2 separate regions of the Homo sapiens genome follow, and region 1 is linked to region 2. The links are contacts of gene promoters, found by promoter capture Hi-C in blood cells and fetal thymus (Javierre and others, 2016). All regions are on one chromosome and are shown on one strand. Each heading gives the region's core, a stretch centred on a gene start or on the middle of the fragment in contact. The rest is flanking DNA. Distances are from core to core; before and after follow the strand shown.

The links. Contacts are between HindIII fragments. The CHiCAGO score rates a contact against its expected background, and 5 or more counts as called.
Region 1: a fragment that was not itself captured here is called in contact with the fragment with the promoter of CLEC12A-AS1 in region 2 in 1 of 17 cell types (neutrophils); the score reaches 5.3 in neutrophils.

Annotation. Positions count from the first base shown.
Region 1 is chr12:9,648,769-9,656,386 of GRCh38, reverse strand. It overlaps the pseudogene LOC374443. Among named protein-coding and RNA genes, the nearest start is that of CLEC2D, 17 kb to the left of the region's middle. RefSeq lists enhancers at 5,507-5,686, 7,586-7,618 and a silencer at 6,462-6,511. The HindIII fragment of the contact is 2,535 bases long and covers 3,107-5,641 here.
Region 2 is chr12:9,949,681-9,954,591 of GRCh38, reverse strand. It overlaps CLEC12A-AS1 (CLEC12A antisense RNA 1), which reads left to right and starts at 1,255. Exons shown (of 3, transcript NR_135047.1): 1 at 1,255-2,042; 2 at 2,513-3,690; 3 at 4,465-4,911. It overlaps LOC124902874 (a long non-coding RNA gene), which reads right to left and starts at 2,935. Exons shown (of 2, transcript XR_007063207.1): 1 at 1,555-2,935. It also overlaps a transcript of CLEC12A not described here. The HindIII fragment of the contact is 17,088 bases long and covers 1-4,130 here.

The DNA.
Region 1 (7,618 bases), core at 3,125-5,624, 300 kb after region 2:
AGAGATTCCCATGAGTTCCCTGGATGCTTTCCTATTGTAAATGGATGCAACACCTGCAAGAGTGGGCTTAACAGCCTTGTGGATATCAGCTCCTCAGTGGCTTCCTATGATTGTAGAACCTTTGTTGCACATCAGCTATAAGTAGGGATTTCAGCAGTTTTAAATCAGTGGATGAAAGTGTAAAATTGTGAGAAATGTCACTGTCACATTAAAGACTTCAACTGAAATCACAGGTAAAGCTTTCCCAAAGACACAGCTAACCAACTGAAGAGCATAAAAAGGGTTTAGATTTCTTACCTCATATTGCAGTAAGTTTTCCATGATACTACATTTCTTATCTCATAAACACAACTCACACACATAACCATACATAAACACAGCAAAAGATGAGAAGTCTCAAAACATACATGTTATTATATTCCATGTTGTCTGTCCATTTCCAAATGCGATGGGATGATTCTCTTCTAAGGCCAATCCAATGGTCAGAAGGGCCTTTGTATCTTTTCAGGAAATTCTATAATAAAACAGAAACTAACACCATGAGCCCCTTTCTTTCATATTACTCTGGAGTCTCTCTTCCCTATCCCTTCTCTTTTTCACTGGCAGCGTGGTATAATTAAGCAGCATAAATTCTGGAGTGAGACTAATTCCCAGTTCTCAGTTTAAGTCATTTAACGTCTCTGATCCTAAATTACTTTATTTAAAGTGAGCATAAATCCCAGTTTCATTGGGAAATTCTCAGTTTATGCTTGTCATTCCACCAATGTATTAATGATCACTTTTAATGCCCTATATGTCTTAATCTAGATGACAAATTATATAATTACCTTACTTCTTAATAGAATGAGAACAATACATCTCATCTTACCAGCTCACCATGAGCATTACATGGGGAAATATATCTAAAATGTCTCACAGGGTTCCAGGCAGAGAACACACCCTCAACAAATGTTAGACATGAAAACACATCTCATGCCCCTGGAATGGGATCCTTCTTAGTATTTCAGCTTTAACCCTATGTAGCCGACCTGCCTCAGGGGGCTAAGTATTTAACAGAAAACATGATCCAAAAATATCTCTTACCAGTTCCTCCATAGTTGCAAACTGAGCAAGGCTGGCTTCTAATGAGACACAGAACGTTTGACTCAATGTCTAATTTCTTATGCCTTCAGAAAAATAAAAACATTTACTCCTAAATCTAATTCAGCTTTTTGGGCAAGCAGCGTATTTAGATGACTCTACCACTGGCTTTTCCTTTCTTGCTAAAAGTGAGACAATCACAATGAAACATAATAAAGAAATTTTCTCACCCATTTTATCTATTTTTCTGCTTACCTTCCTGAGGTCAATTTTGAAGTGTACATATCTGATTGTTGTTTTCCTAACTCATCACAAAGTGCCTTATCCTAAGCACAACAATCGTCAGTCCGGTGGTTTCCAGCTGGGTATCTGCACCCTTGACTTTCTGAAATTTACACTGACACTAACAGTTTCAAGGAAATCAATTTCTATAGCATCGACTTCCATAGTACTGTACTTTCACAGGGTCATACGGATGATTTTTCCATATCCTCCCTCATATTAGCCCTTCTTTCTCTTGACAAAGCAATGCTGAGGACCTATTACCTCTATACAAGAGATGATTTTTTTATGTATACAGTTCTCTGTACTTTCGTGCATTCTCAATCTGCTTAAGTAGAAGATACCAGCTCTTAAGGCCAGGTGATTTGCCTGAAAACATTTCAAGTAGAGATCTTACTTTATTTTTAATAAAAAATGACAATTCTGAGAGGAACTTGTCAGGAAATAGTTCCGTAAGCGGAATTCCTATACCCATAGCCTTTCTCATATCAATGGACGGCAAATGCATTCTTGCCAAGGCTCAAAAGAAGACAGGCTTACCTTTGACATTCCTCTGAGACGTTTTATCCAATTTGACATAAAATACTGTTGGCTCAGCTTTCAAAATATCCAGAGTCTGACCACCCTCCCCTACCTAGTCTCAATATAGCAATTAAATGATTATTCTACAATGAAAGTCACATCAAGACATTCCTCTCGTACAACTTCCCTCATCTAGTCTCCCTATTGCACTGAAGGTCAAAGCCAAAGTCTTTAACTGACCCTCAAGGTTCCTCCGTTCCTGATTCCCCATGGTATCACTCTTCTTCTCCATCTTCACTTTGCTTCACCTACAGCAGCCTCCTTGCTCTTCCTCAAATAAGCCAGGAAGAGTCCTCCTTCAGGCTTTGGTCTACTTGTTCTCTGCCTGGAATAGGTTCCTTCACATGGTTCCTCCATCTCTTTCAAAAGGTTGCTGAAATGTCACCTTCCTAAGAAGGCTTAGTTTTGTCAACCTATTGCAACCTGTTATACCTCCACCCTTATTTATTTTTACTTGTGTTTTTCTGCTGGAATATAAGTTCCAAAGGGCAGGAATTCTTTTGTGTGTATTTTGTTTGCTGATGTAATTCAAGCATTTCACACAGTGACAGGCACATAATGGAGCTTAATAAATATTTATTGACAACAAAAACATATGGAGAATATTGTACAGTTTGGAGAACAAGTAACTTACCTGACAAAACAATAGAAAGTGCAATCACACTTGTAGTCAGGACTGCAATGATGAACAAGCAACAATAAACCTTGACAGGAGTTACTGGAGATATAAGTGCTAGACATTGTCTTTGCAGAGTTTTATCTGTAAAATAGAAACATCAGAATCTCAATCTCAGGAATATCGTAGGGAGAAAAAATTTATCATAGAATCAACACTAAGATCAGATGTACTTCAATTCTCCTACTGCCAACTCCTTTCACAAAAGGGCTTGGTTCATAAATGAGAATAATGGCCCAAAGAGGGCTAGAGATAAAAATCGAATTCTCCCCACCCCCAGGGAATCTTCCAGTTACTGGAAAAAGAGTAGAAATTGGGATGAAAAAGAAACATACACAATCCAGATTTAGCCCCATAGTAAAGCAGCTGGTTAGAAGCAACAAGGGAAGCAGAAAATAAATCAATGTAATTCACCATATTGACAGAATGAGACAAGGGACAACATATGAGCATCTGAATAAATGCAGCAAGAGGATGTGAAAAGCTTAATATTCATCCACGATAGTAAGACTCAACAAATTAGAAATTGAAGAACTTTCTTCAACCTGATAAAGGGCATCTACAGAAAAACTACAACTAGCAACAACCTTAACGATGAAAGAATAAATGCTTTCCCCCAGTGACATAGAACAAGGCAAGGATGTCTGATCTCTCTCACCAATCCAATTTAACATTTTACTGGATGTCCTATTAGGGGCAAAAAGGCAAGAAAAAAGAAATAAATGTCATACAGATTGGAAAGAAATAAAAGCATTGCTATTCACAGACAACACAGTTGTCTGCATGTAAAATTCTAAGGAATCTACCAAATGGCTATGAGAATAAATGAATTTGGCAAAGCTACAGGATTACCTATGTTCATATATAAAAATCACTTATATTTCCATATTCATAATTATGAAGTGGAAATTTAAATATAAAAACAGTATCATTTATAATAACATGAAAGATATCAAATAAATATATCAAAATATGTTTAGGATCAGTATGATGAAAGCTGGAAACCAAAGGGACAAAGAAATCAAAGCAGACTTGAATCAACAGAGAGATATAAGATATTCATAGATTGGAATATGCAATATTGCTGGATGTCAATTATACCCAAACAGGTTTAGAGATTCAGTGCAATACTGATAAACATTGCAGTATGAATTTTTTGTAGAAATAAGCAAGGTAATTTTAAAATTATATGAAAAAGCAAAGAACTAGAATAGCCAAACAATTTTGAAGGAAAAAAAAATGGCCAAATTTGGAAATCAGGGAACCTGCTTTCGTAATTTACAAAGTAATAGAAACAAAGACAGTATGATATTGACAAAAGAACAGACACATAAATCAATGGAACAGAAAAAAGGTTTCAGAAACAAATCTAAACGTGTATCATCAATTGACATTTGACAGACGTGGAAAGTAATCAGGTAGGTAAGGGGTAATATTTTCTGAACATGTAGTGCTGGAACAATTGAGTGTCCTAATGCAAAACAGTGAACCTCAGCTCACACCTAATACCTTATAAGAAAATTAACTCAAAATAAATTTTAGACTCATATATAAAGCCTCAAACCCTAAAACTATTAGAAGAGGAAAATTACATTTTTGTGAACTTGAATTAGGCAAAAATTTCTTACATACAACACCAAAAGCATTATCAATATTTTAAAAATTGATAAATTGAACTTTAACGTAATTAAAACTCTCTGCTAGAAAAAAAACCCTGAAAAGGGAATAAAAAGACAAGCAAAGGCAGAAAAACATCTCTCTAAAAAGCGACTTGTATCTAGAATATATTAAGAACTCAAAACTCAACAATAAGAAAACGAAAACTAGATTAAAAAGTGGGCCAATGATTTGGAGATATACTTGATTAAAGAGGATATATGAATAGCAAACAAGTGCATAAAAACATGCTTGAAATAACCAGCCATTTGAGAAATACAAATTAAAACCATGAGTGACTACTACATGGTTATTAGAGTGGCAAACAAAACAGAAAAAGAAACAACTGCTGGTGAGGAAGGGATGTGATATGGTTTGGATCTTTGTCCCCACCCAAATCTTATGTTGAATTGTAATCTCCAGCGTTGGAGGTGGGGTCTGGTGGAAGGAGATTGGATCATGGGGGCAGATTTCCCCCTTGGCACTGTGTCATGATAAGAGTGAGTTCTCGTGAGATCTGGCGGTTGAAAACTGTGTGGTGCCCTCCCTCACTTCCTCTCTTCCTCCTGCTCTGGCCAAGTGAAGTATGGACTCCCCCTTTGCCTTCTGCCATGAATTGTAAGTTTCCTGAGGCATCCCCAGAAGCTGAGCAGATGCCAGAATCATGCTTCCTGGCCAGCCTGTGGAATGGTCAGCCAATTAAACCTCTTTTCTTTACAAATTACTCAGTCTCAGGCTATTTCTTTATAGCAGTGAGAGAATGGACAGGATGCAACTGGAATTTTCATGCATCATCACTGGAAATGCAAAATGTTATGGGCATTTTGGAAAACAGTTAAGCAGTTTGTTATGGTAAATGTAAATTCACCACATGCCCTAGCCATCCTATCCCTAGGTATTTAAACAAGGGAAGTGAAAACTTGTGTTTACCCAAAAACCTGTAAGGAATATTTTACACCAGGTTTATTCATTATCACAAAAAACTAGCAACAACTCAAATATGCTTCAGCTGCTGAAGAGGTAAACAACTATTCCTCAGCCCTAATAAAAGAAAAAACTCGATCACACATTCACAATTGTCAATTTCTTACTGTGTGTTAGCTGGCCAAACTTTTGTCAGGTTTTTCTCCTCCCCACAGGCCCTACACGTGTTTGCCCGCAAGTTTGCCTAAATGCCTCAAAGCACAGACTTGCAAAAAACATCCTGCCTTAACCTGACCACAGACCACATTGCACCATTTCCTGCTGAAACGCCTAGACTTTGCCTGCTCTCTCCCACACCACTAACTTTTTTTTTTTTTTTAAGACAGAGTCTCTGTCGCCCACGCTGGAGTGCAGGAGCATGATCTCGGCCCACTGTAAGCTTCCACCTCCCGGGTTCATGCCATTCTCCTGCCTCAGCCTCCCGAGTAGCTGGGACCACAGATGCCCACCACCATGCCCGGCTAATTTTTTGTATTTTGTTTAGTAGAGACGGGGTTTCAGCAGGTTAGCCAGGATGGTCTCAATCTCCTGACCTCGTGATCCACCCGCCTCAGCCTCCCAAATTGCTGGGATTATAGGCATAAGCCACCGCACCTGGCCTAACATATTTTTGAAATCAGTGTTATTCCTATTGCAACAGTCCTTTTGAATAAAGTTTCTCCCTAAGTCCAGACTTGTTTTTCTTTGACAAATGATACATACTATAATACAGATGACTTGAAAATGCATTATTGCTAAGTGAATGAAGTCAGATTCTACATTTACCTACTGCAAGATTCCATCGATGTGACATTCTGGAAAAGCAAAAGTGCAAGATCAGAAAACAGATGAGTGGTTGCCAAGGGCTAGCGGTAGAGGAAGAGACATTCTACAAAGGGACATGAGGGAATTTCGAGTGGGTGGGTATGGCTCTATATCTTGACTTTTATGGTAGTAACATGAGTATATATGTTTACCATAGAAATCTACACCAAAAGAGTGAATTTTACTGAATATAAATTATAATACTTTAAAAGTCCCTGCCAACTTTCGTCCGTTTAATATACATCTACAAGAATAACAGGGAGCTTCAGCTTAAATTCTAGACAGGGGGAAAGATGGGTAAGATTGGATGATCTTAAGCAGTAAATATCGTTTGGATTTTGGCTCATATAAAAATATCAACCTTTATTCTTTCTGGTTCTACACTAACGCAAAATTGTCTTAAAGGTTCAGAATACTAAGACTTCCGTAATTCTTTTTCATTGCTACTAGGGTAATGTGTAACTCTCCCCTTAAAACTTCCCCCAAATCTCCCATTTGCCTCTCTTAATAATCTTCTAAATGTGCCTGCTTTCTCTTCTTCTTTTTTACATCTCTAGCCCCTCCTACTAATACTGAGACAGCCAGGTGGGAAGGGGTCCCTGGAGAAACTCCAATTAGCCTGCCCACTGAGGTGGAGCCTTGGGAAGTTCACAAGGTTTGCAGCAGAGAGAAGCCTGAGCCTGGCCCCAGTTTTTCATTTGTAGAACCTGGGATTCAAACTGTCAGGTGGGAAGCGCTCCGGCGGAAGGACTCTGGCCCTGCAAGAGTACCTGTTTCCCCCTTTTTTTCCCTTTTTCACCCAATAAAACTCTGCTTCACACACCCTTTAAACCATCTGCGAGCCTGAATTTCCGTGGCCGTGGGACAAAGAATCCCATTTTTAGCTGAAATAAGGAAAAGTCCTGCAGCAATATTCCCACATGCATCTTGTTCCACTTCTCTCTTGCTCACTTATTTCTCTTCTACCTTTCTTACAGTGTGTCCTGACTCCCGCAAATTCATACCACTCTTAAGGTACACACTGAACACAATAACTCTTCAGACTTCTAGTTGGAAAAACAACATTAGGAATTATCTCTCAGAAGAACAGAGAAATAAAGCATTATTACTGATCAAATTTTAACTCAGTTTCAGGATCTGAAAAACTTAAATCACAGGATGCATTTTAAAAAACAAGTTTCACAACTGTACCAGGTAACAAATATTTAGTTTCGGTTCTGTAAACATTCTTTAGAATATAACATTTGGCTTAGTTAGTAAGAATATAACTTAGTAGGAATGTAACTTAGCCAAAAGTTACATTTGTAACATCTAAAAAATGTTAGAACGTACTGCTCCGGGACACAAATTTAAGAAGACCGATTTGAGTAATAATAAAACTCCCATCACCTGCAAAGCCGGCTCTGCGTGAATTACTCTTTCTCCATTGTAATCCCCGTCTTGATAAATCGGCTCTATCTAGCAGACAAAGTGAACCCACTGGACGGTTACAACAGTACCATGAATGCTAAGAGCTAGGAGCAACATGTTACAAAAACAGTGGCATCCCTTAAA
Region 2 (4,911 bases), core at 6-2,505:
TGGTTGAACTTTATTTGTTCTGATAGGTAATCCAATAAAGGTTGTGAAACAAAATTTTGAATAAAGCAGTTTCCATGATAGTTTGATTATTTTTTTTTTTGAGACAGGATCTCCGTCACCCAGGCTGGAAGTGCAGTGGTGTGATCAAGGCTCACTGCAGCCTCAACCTCCCAGGCTCAGGTAATCCTCCCACCTCAGCCTCCTGAGTAGCTGGGACTACAGGTATGCACCATTACACCCAGCTAATATTTGTATTTTTTGTAGAGACAGGGTTTCACCATGTTGCCCAGGCTGGTCTCGAACTCCTGGGCTCAAGTATCTGCCCACCTCAGTTTCTTGCGCCCAGCTGACAGTTTGATTTTTTTTTTTTTTTTTTTTTTTTTTTTATTGATAATTCTTGGGTGTTTCTCACAGAGGGGATTTGGCAGGGTCATGGGACAATAGTGGAGGGAAGGTCAGCAGATAAACAAGTGAACAAAGGTCTCTGGTTTTCCTAGGCAGAGGACCCTGCGGCCTTCCGCAGTGTTTGTGTCCCTGATTACTTGAGATTAGGGATTGGTGATGACTCTTAACGAGCATGCTGCCTTCAAGCATCTGTTTAACAAAGCACATCTTGCACCGCCCTTAATCCATTTAACCCTGAGTGGACACAGCACATGTTTCAGAGAGCACAGGGTTGGGGGTAAGGTCACAGATCAACAGGATCCCAAGGCAGAAGAATCTTTCTTAGTGCAGAACAAAATGAAAAGTCTCCCATGTCTACTTCTTTCTACACAGACACGGCAACCATCCCATTTCTCAATCTTTTCCCCACCTTTCCCGCCTTTCTATTCCACAAAGCCGCCATTGTCATCCTGGCCCGTTCTCAATGAGCTGCTGGGCACACCTCCCAGACGGGGTGGTGGCCGGGCAGAGGGGCTCCTCACTTCCCAGTAGGGGCGGCCGGGCAGAGGCGCCCCTCACCTCCCGGACGGGGCGGCTGGCCGGGCAGGGGGCTGACCCCCCCACCTCCCTCCCGGACGGGGCGGCTGGCCAGGCAGAGGGGCTCCTCACTTCCCAGTAGGGGGCGGCCGGGCAGAGGCGCCCCTCACCTCCCGGACGGGGCGGCTGGCTGGGCGGGGGGGCTGACCCCCCCCACCTCCCTCCCGGACGGGGCGGCTGGCCAGGCGGGGGGCTGACCCCCCCACCTCCCTCCCGGACGGGGCGGCTGGCCAGGCGGGGGGCTGACCCCCCCACCTCCCTCCCGGACGGGGCAGCTGGCTGGGCGGGGGGGCTGACCCCCCATCTCCGTCCCAGACGGGGTGGCTGGCCGGGCTGAGGGGCTCCTCACTTCCCAGTAGGGGGGGGCGGGCAGAGGCGCCCCTCACCTCCTGGACGGGGCGGCTGGCCGGGCAGGGGGCTGACCCCCCCACCTCCCTCCCGGACGGCATGGCTGGCCAGGCGGGGGGCTGACCCCCCACCTCCCTCCCGGATGGGGCGGCTGGCCGGGCGGAGGGCTAACCCCCCCCACCTCCCTCCCGGACGGGGTGGCTGCTGGGCGGAGACGCTCCTCACTTCCCAGATGGGGTGGCTGCCGGGCGGAGAGGCTCCTCACTTCTCAGACGGGGCGGCTGCCGGGCGGAGGGGCTCCTCACTTCTCAGACGGGGTGGTTGCCAGGCAGAGGGTCTCCTCACTTCTCAGACGGGGCGGCCGGGCAGAGACGCTCCTCACCTCCCAGACGGGGTCTCGGCCGGGCAGAGGCGCTCCTCACATCCCAGATGGGGCGGCGGGGCAGAGGCGCTCCCCACATCTCAGACGATGGGCGGCCGGGCAGAGACGCTCCTCACTTCCTAGATGTGATGGCGGCTGGGAAGAGGCGCTCCTCACTTCCTAGATGGGATGGCGGCCGGGCGGAGACGCTCCTCACTTTCCAGACTGGGCAGCCAGGCAGAGGGGCTCCTCACATCCCAGACGATGGGTGGCCAGGCGGAGACACTCCTCACTTCCCAGACGGGGTGGCGGCCGGGCAGAGGCTGCAATCTCGGCACTTTGGGAGGCCAAGGCAGGTTGCTGGGAGGTGTAGGTTGTAGTGAGCCGAGATCACGCCACTGCACTCCAGCCTGGGCACCATTGAGCACTGAGTGAACGAGACTCCGTCTGCAATCCCGGCACCTCGGGAGGCCAAGGCTGGCGGATCACTCGCGGTTAGGGGCTGGAGACCGGCCCGGCCAACACAGCGAAACCCCGTCTCCACCAAAACCAGTCAGGCGTGGTGGTGCGTGCCTGCAATCGCAGGCACTCGGCAGGCTGAGGCAGGAGAATCAGGCAGGGAGGTTGCAGTGAGCCGAGATGGCAGCAGTACAGTCCAGCTTCGGCTCCACATGAGAGGGAGACCGTGGGGAGAGGGAGAGGGAGACGGAGAGGGAGAGGGAGAGGGAGACGGAGAGGGAGAGGGAGAGGGAGACGGAGAGGGAGAGGGAGAGGGAGAGGGAGAGCGCTCACATCCTGTTTTTTTTTTTTTCCTTGAGACAGGGTCTGACAGTTTGATTTTTAAAGGCCAAATCTCTCCAGACTCCAAAGAACTCTGTAGCCAAACAGCAGCACATACTAATCAGGCCTGCCTGTCCTTAGAGCAGCAGCATAGAAGCCTGGAGACATGGACTTCCATCCCATATTCACATTCAACAGCAAAATAAATCCAAATATAAGGCAGTGCTACAATTCAAAGACTGTCTGAGATCAGATGAGATTGGGCATGTTCAGCGTGATACGGGTAGAGATGTTCCCTCACTCCACTGGCCCACAGCCACATGCAGACCAACCCTGAAGAATACACCCAAGCGGTCTGCACTCAGATCAAACCCTGATCTCCCACAACTACATCAACACACAAACAACCACCAGAATACAATCTAACTGCTGCAACAATAAGCAAGTCCCAAGAGAGTCCAAACTGAAACAGTTGAGTTGCTTTCTCCCTGTTTGTTGGGCTAGTTCAATCTGCAAATGGAGATTCCTTCGGAATTTCTCAAATTGAGAAAAGCAGATCCTGCTGTCTGGACCCACAAATGACACTCACTTATCCAGACACATACTCAATTACTAACAAGCCCCAAGAGTGTCTGAACTGGAACAGTCAGGGTGCTTCCTCTCTCCGTCAGTTGGCCTTGCTGAACTTGCCAATGGAAATTCCTTCAGAATTTCTCAAATTGAGAGGAGCCATTCCCACTGTCGGTATCCACAAAAGACACTCACCTATCCACATGCAGAAGTCAAATTTGAAAGGCTGTTCTTCCTAGGCAATCAGAAATGTGGTTGGGGCTGGCAGCAGCAATGCTAAATAGAAAGACTAAAACCCACATCCTGCCTAAAACACATAGGCTGCTGCTTAGGGTTGCGGAAATTCTCCCAACTGGTGACAGCCAAGCCAAGAGCAATGTCTTCCTGATGAGGGAACCAAAATCTGTTACTGAAATGCCAGAGGTTCAGCCTAGGTCCCGTTACTCATTGCACAGAATGCCAATCACTGAGGCAAGTATTTCCAGGGGAGATGACTTTATTCAGTTGCTGCAGCTGAGAAGAACTGCAGATCAGTCTCAAATTCATCTCCCCAAGTGACTGAAATTGGGGGTTTACATAGCAGAGGAGGGATGTAGCTACGTGCAGGAAATAATGTAGCTATGTGTGGGAAAACAGAATTTGAATTTCAGGTAAAAATGACTTATTTTTAATGTAAGTATTGCTCATCAATATTTGTATTTGCTGTCTCTGCAATTATCTGTGGTCGATTGAAATTCAAATTTAACTGGAAATCTTGTGTCTTAATTTGTTAATATGGCCAGCATATCCATAAGCCCATTGGAGTGGATTGGCTGAAAAAGATGAAGACAAATTTGTACAGGCAGCACACATTCTTTTAATGAGAAGAGTGACTTAGTCTCACCACCCACCCTAAAGTACACTCTCCCCACTCTTCTACATACCTTGTCAGTCAACCTATTCACCACCCAATCCCATGTTTTTCACAGCATTTATCAAGTATTTCGGTGCCCGGTTAATATTTTCCAGATGGTTGAGAGGCATCAGGATATTCATTATGTTTCTTTTATGGACTAATTGCCTGCTACTCTAAGTCAAGTCACAGAAAGCTTATGGACTGAAGCAAGATCGCAGCTACTAAGGTTTCTGGAAAGTAACTTTGCTAGTAAAAGAAGCTTCATAATGCCTTCGATGGTTATTTATGTTGTAGCTTGTGTCAGAATGTCCTTCCTTTTTAAGGCTGAATAATATTCCATTGTATGTATATATGACATATTTTTATTCCACCCATTGATGGACTCTAGGGTTGCTGTAACCTGTTGTTAGCACAAAGTTCTAAATTCAGACTGCCGTAACAACAATAACAAAAAAACTGAAATATATGCACTTATACACCAAAATGCTAGGTCTAGTTGTCACTTTCTCTGCCTCTTTAAATTTTTCAGGGCAACAGGAGATTTGATGGGGAATGAACACCCCACAGCTCTGTGCAGGAGTGCCTGGAAGTGAGGCCAGTCAAGGGAATGCTGCCAGACAACCAACTCAGCTTCAGACCATCTTCAGATCGTAACCCACCAGGGACTGTGGGCTTTGCCAGACCACATTTTTGGTTACTGCAACTCAAGTTGGCTTCTAAATCTCAAAAAATGTGACAATGATACAGATTTTTTTATCTACTTTTGTCTAAAACATTTAAATACTCATTCTGAAGTAACTCATCTCAAAATCCAATGCTAGAAAAATGGAAATAATTACAGGCAGATGCAATGATTTAAAGGTTTAAAAGAAGCTGTCCATTCTAAAGAGTCAGAGGAAACCTTTCCTTATGAAATGGTTAATGAAATAAATAGGAAAAAAAAATCCAACACAATCACGAGGTTCCAGAAAACATT